Regions from separate parts of the Homo sapiens genome. Here region 1 is linked to region 2. Evidence: promoter capture Hi-C in 16 types of primary human blood cells and fetal thymus (Javierre and others, 2016). All regions are on one chromosome and are shown on one strand. The core of a region is centred on a gene start or on the middle of the fragment in contact, and the rest is flanking DNA. Distances in the headings are between cores, read along the strand shown.

The links. The method cuts DNA at HindIII sites, captures the fragments that hold promoters and counts their contacts. A CHiCAGO score of 5 or more calls a contact.
Region 1: a contact is called between a fragment that was not itself captured here and the fragment with the promoter of PITPNA in region 2, in 7 of 17 cell types (endothelial precursors, megakaryocytes, erythroblasts and 4 more). The highest score is 16.6, in endothelial precursors.

What each region holds. Positions count from the first base shown.
Region 1 is chr17:1,257,188-1,259,887 of GRCh38, forward strand. No RefSeq gene overlaps it. Among named protein-coding and RNA genes, the nearest start is that of BHLHA9, 12 kb to the right of the region's middle. The HindIII fragment of the contact is 2,984 bases long and covers 1-2,700 here.
Region 2 is chr17:1,561,407-1,564,106 of GRCh38, forward strand. It overlaps PITPNA (phosphatidylinositol transfer protein alpha), which reads right to left and starts at 1,386. Exons shown (of 12, transcript NM_006224.4): 1 at 1,135-1,386. The coding sequence starts at 1,154. RefSeq lists enhancers at 339-438, 1,207-1,706 and silencers at 549-678, 1,159-1,208, 1,279-1,558. The HindIII fragment of the contact is 8,315 bases long and covers 247-2,700 here.

The sequences.
Region 1 (2,700 bases), core at 63-2,562, 300 kb before region 2:
TTTTTTTGATGGAGTCTTGCTCTGTCATCCAGGCTGGAGTGCAGTGGCACGATCTTGGCTCACTGCAACCTCCACCTCCCAGGTTCAAGCAATTCTCCTGCCTCAGCCTCCCAAGTAGCTGGGATTACAGGAATGCACCACCGAACCCGGCGAATTTTGTATTTTTAGCAGAGACGGGTTTTTGCCATGTTGGTCAGGCTGGTCTTGAACTCCTGACCTCAGGTGATCCACCCGCCTCGGCCTCCCAAAGTGCTGGGATTACAGGCATGAGCCACCGCGTGCGGCCTATTTCTACTTTTTAGAGACTGGGTCTCGCTTTGTCGCCCAGGCTAGAGTGCAGTGACGTGATCTTTGCTTACTGCAGCCTCAAACTCCTGGGCTCAAGGGATCCTCCCACCTCAACCTCCTGAGTAGCTGGGACTACAGATGCATACCACCACCCCCAGCTAATTTTTTAATTTTTCGTAGAGACAGGGTTTCTTAATAATAATGATATGACAATATTGATTCGTTAATTGTAATAAATGTACTACAGTAATGTGATATGTTAATAACAAGGAAATGGGTTCAGGATACATGGGGGACTCTTGGTATTCGCTTCTCAGTTTTTCTGTACATCTTTTTTTTTTCTTTCTTTCTCTTTTGAGGCAAAGTTTCACTCTTGTCCCCCAGGCTGGATTGCAATGACACAGTCTCCACTGACTGCAACCTCCACCTCCTGGATTTATGCGATTCTCCTGCCTCAGCCTCCCAAGTAGCTGGGATTACAGGTGTGTGCCACCACATCTGGCTACTTTTTGTATTTTTAGTAAAGACGGGGTTTCACCATGTTCGCCAGGCTGGTTTCAAACTCCTGACCTCCAGTGATCCACCCACCTCAGGCTCCCAAAGTGCTGAGATTACAGGCAGGAGCCACTCGCTCGGCCTAGTTTTTCTGTACATCTAAAATCATTCTAAAAAATAACGTTCATTAAAGCACAAAAAATGGGTGGCCGGTCGCGGCGACTCACGTCTGTAATCCCAGCACTTTGGGAGGCGGAGGTGGGTGGATCACGAGGTCAGAAGTTCGAGACCAACTTGGCCAACATGGTGAAATCCCATCTCTACTGAAAATACAAAAAATTAGCCGGGCTTGGTGGCGCATGCCTGCAATCCCAGCTGCTCGGGAGGCTGAGGTGGAAGGATTGCTTGAGCCCAGGAGGTCGAGGCTGCAGTGAGCTGTGATTATGCTACTGCCTCCCAGCCTCAGTGACAGAATAAGACCCTGTCTCAAAAAGCAAAAACAAAAAACAAAAAAACACCCCCCAAAAACCCATGAAAGATCAAAAAGCAACTGGAGAGAGGGAATAATAGCTAGCGGCTCAAAGTGTACCTTCTGTGAGGGTGGGAGTGGAGATGCTTCCCCCACCGCCCCAGCAGCAGGGTTATCTTCAGACAGCAGGACGTGCAAATGGGTGCAGACAGATCTCTTTGTGGGCCCAGGCAGGAAGCTGAGGGTTCGCATCTGATGGTATCAATTTTTCCTCTGAGACAGGAGAGGTGGGCTACGTGCAATGAAACTGCGGGTTGTACATGATGAAGACCTGAAGGTCCTCCAAGAGAAGTGCAGGAAGAACCTGACCAGCGCAAAAGAGCAGCTTCCTCTCCCAGCACAGATGACAAGACATAAAACTTCAGCTTTTGCAGGGGCAGCCCCAGGTGGACAGCACCAAGCAGCAGGGCCTTAGCCCAACAAGAGGCCTGAACTGAGCGCTTCATGGGGTTCAACTTTTTTCTTTTTTTTTTGAGACGATGGAGTCTTGCTCTGTCGCCCAGGCTGGAGTGCAGTGACGTGATCTGGGCTCACTGCAACCTCCACCTCCCAGGTTCAAGCGATTCTCCTGGCTCAGCCTCCCAAGTGGCTGGGATTACAGGCGCCCGCCACCACGCCCGGCTAATTTTTGTATTTTGGTAGCGACGGGATTTCGCCATGTTGGCCAGGCTGGTCTCGAACTCCTGACCTCAAGAGATCCGCCCGCCCAGGCCTCCCAAAGTGCTGGGATTACAGGTGTGAGCCACCGCGCCCGGCCTGGAGTTCCACTTTCTGACCAGAAGAGGGCGCCGGGGTTCCACTTTTGTTCTTCACGCCCCACGTTTCTCTTTCCAAAGTTGCTAAGGTTTGGAGTCTAGGAATAAAAAGTTCCCTTCTGAGTCCGCCACAATGATGGCGGGAGGCGGTGGGAGGGTGGGCGATGGTTTTGTTCCTTTGCTCGTTCACCCCGGTGGGGAGCCGGGGAGCCAGGGAGCAGAGTGTGGGAACTGGGTGGAGATGTCTGCGGAACGGTCACCCGGACACGGGAACACGGCTCTGAACGTCGGGAGAGAAGCTGCAGCTGAAAGGAGACATTTGACCTTTAAGGGATTGTCGGAAGAAGAGGAGCCGATCAAAAGGGACAGAAAAGGAGTGAGTGGGGAGAGATGCCAAAGAGAGGAGCCCAGTTCCCGCCGGGCACGCGGTTCAGCCTGTAGTCCCGGCGCTTTGCCAAGCGAGGCGGGCGGAGTTCGAGACCTGCCTGGCCCACAAAATGAGACCCACCCCACCCCCATCTCTACAAAAATAAAATACAAAAATAAATTAGCCCGGCGTGGTGACGGGCGCCTGCAGTCCCAGCTGCTCGGGGGAGGCTGAGGCAGGAGAACGGCGTGAACCCGGGAGGCGGC
Region 2 (2,700 bases), core at 136-2,635:
CATGGACCCCTCAATTCCTCAAAGAATTTCCCCATCTCTTTGCACCAAGACTGAGAATCCCCTAGAAACAAGCTGGCCCTGCCCTGGTCTCCCCCATCTCCAACGGCAGGTATACTCATCCCAACATACTCTCTTTCCGGACCAGCCTCGACCCCGGTAACTTCCCGGCCTTCTCCACTTCGGACCCTACCCAACATTTTCTGGCCTCCTCGCCCAAGTCTCCCCACGTCCCAAGCAGTCATCCCAAGCTTGTTCCAAAAGCCTCCTCTTCCGCACCAGCTGCTTGGGCACCACGGTTACTCCGGCCCGCATCTCAGCCCCCTCTGCATGTCCTCAGACCCTTCACCTGTCTCCCCAGCCAGGCCCTGACTTCCTAGTCCTCCTCCTGTGTCCACTTACCACCACCCCTCACCCGATGCCTAAGGCGGCCACTCCTCCCCATCCCCATCCCAACTCCATCGCGGAGCCTCTGACCCATCCACCCGGCTCTCCGTGTGAACTGTTCGGCCCTCCACCTTTCCCCACCGCCGGGAGGCCCTGCCTGCCCCGGTGCGCCTCTTCCTCGGCCGCCGCGGGGCCTCTCAGCGCCGCCTGCAGTCCCGGCTGAGCCCGCGCCCTCGGCCCGCGCAGAGCGACCCCACAGCACTCCCAGCGCTCGGCGTCCCCTCGGCCTCCCCCAGTCCCGGGCCAGCTCTCCCTGCCCTGACCCCGTCTCGGGCCTGGCCTCGCCCTCGCTGTCCCCGGCCTCTCCTCGGGTCCACTTGGGCCTCCGAGGCCCCCGGGGCGCCTGAGGAGCCGTCCGCCCGGGTTGTCCCTCCGTGCCCGTGGGCCCCTCCATGCCCCGGCTGCCCGTCCATGCCCCGTGGGCCCCGGCTCAGATGCCGAACGCCCCGGCTGCCCCTCCACGCCCCGGCCGCCCCTCCACGCCCCGGCCGCCCCTCCGTGCCCCGTGGGCCCCGCCTCACGTGCCGCCCGCCCCGGATCCCCTCCATCCCCGCTGGGCCCGCCTCAGGCACCCTCCGTCCCTGCTGCCCCTCCGTCCATCCGGGCCCTGCGTCCCTCGCCGCGCCGTCGCCCCGGCGGCCGTCCCCACCCTCCCTCCTCCCCGCTTCCGCACGGCCGCCGGACACTCACTACTCCTTGAGCAGCACCATGTCGCTTCGCGGCTCGGTGGCTGCCCGCGGCCCGCCCGGCCTCCCGCCCGCTGCCCGCCGGCCGCTCTCCCCGTGGCCCGGCCCGGCCCGGCTGCCTGTGCGTCTTCGTCGTGCTCTGCTCCGTCCCCGCCGCCCTCGCCGCGGTCGCCGCGCCGGCTCCTGCCGCCCGGGCCTCGTCGCCTCTCGCGCCGCTGCCGACGCCGCCCGGAGCTCCGGTTCCGCAGCGCCGCGCGGGGGCGGGGCGTCTCTGCGGCAACCAGAGCGTCACACGCCGCGGTGCGCGCTGACGTCACGCGGGGCCGAGCCTTCCCAGGCCCGCCCTCCCGTCCTTAAGTGGGCCGCGGCGGCGCTGTCGGTTCCGAGGTGGGGCCCCGCGGCTGGGGCCAGACCCGGCAGAAGGCGGAGCAGACTAGGGTGTCCGTCACCGTCCTCGGTGTGAACCGCCACGGATGCACGCGGGTGCTGGCTGGGGGGCCTCCCCGGTTGAGGGAATTGAGACCCAGGAAAAGGTTGTTTCAAAAAATATTAATAGCCGCGCGCGGTGGCCCACGCCTGTAATCCTTGCACCTTGGGAGGCCGAGGCGGGCGGATCACCTGAGGTCAGGAGTTCGAGACCAGCCTGGCCAACATGATGAAACCCCGTCTCTACTAAAAATACAAAAATTAGCTGGGCGTGGAGGCACGCACCTGTAATCCCAGCTACACGGGAGGCTGAGGCGGGAGAATCGCTTGTACCGGGAGGCAGAGTTTGCAGTGAGCCGAGATCGCGATCGCGCCATTGCACTCCAGCCTGGGGGACAAGAGTGAAACTTCGTCTCAAAAAAAAAAAAAAGAAAAGAAAAGGGCTGTGAGGCCGGGCGCGGTGGCTCCTGGCAGTAATCCCAGGCACATCATGCCTGTAATGCAGCACTCAGGCGGGCGCATCACCTGAGGTCAGGAGTTCCAGACCAGATGGCGAAACCCCATCTCTACTAAAAGTACAAAAATTAGCCGGGCGTGGTGGTGGACGTGGTGGTGGTAGTCCCAGCTGCTCGGGAGGATGAGGCAGGAGAATCGCTTGAACCCTGGAGGCGGAGGTTGCAGTGAGCCGAGATCGCACCATTGCACTCCAGCTGGGGCGACAGAGCGAGACTCTGCATCAAAAAAAAAAAAAAAAAAAAGAATGAAAAGGGCTGTGAGAAATGAGACACAGGCTTAGCGGCATTACACGGAGGGGCACCTAATTGAGCGTCAGGGATGTAGTCAGGGAAGGCTTCCTGGAGGAAGAGATTCTCAGATCTGCAGAGGGCTTCGGAGAAGAGCATAGCAGGCAGAGTGAATGCAAAGGCTGGAGGCAAGAGGGAGAGCATGGTGCATTTGGAGAACTGACAAGTGAGTGGAACAGAACATTTCAGGGCTGAGCAGCTCAATAGGGGAGGGTTCCTGGTGAACGATGATAAGGTATTTGGAGTCCACCCTAAGGGCGGTGGGAGGGCATGTAAGGGCTCTGAGCAGTGACATGAGCGGGTGTCCTGGGCGAAGGCTCACTCTAGTGGTTGGGTGGACA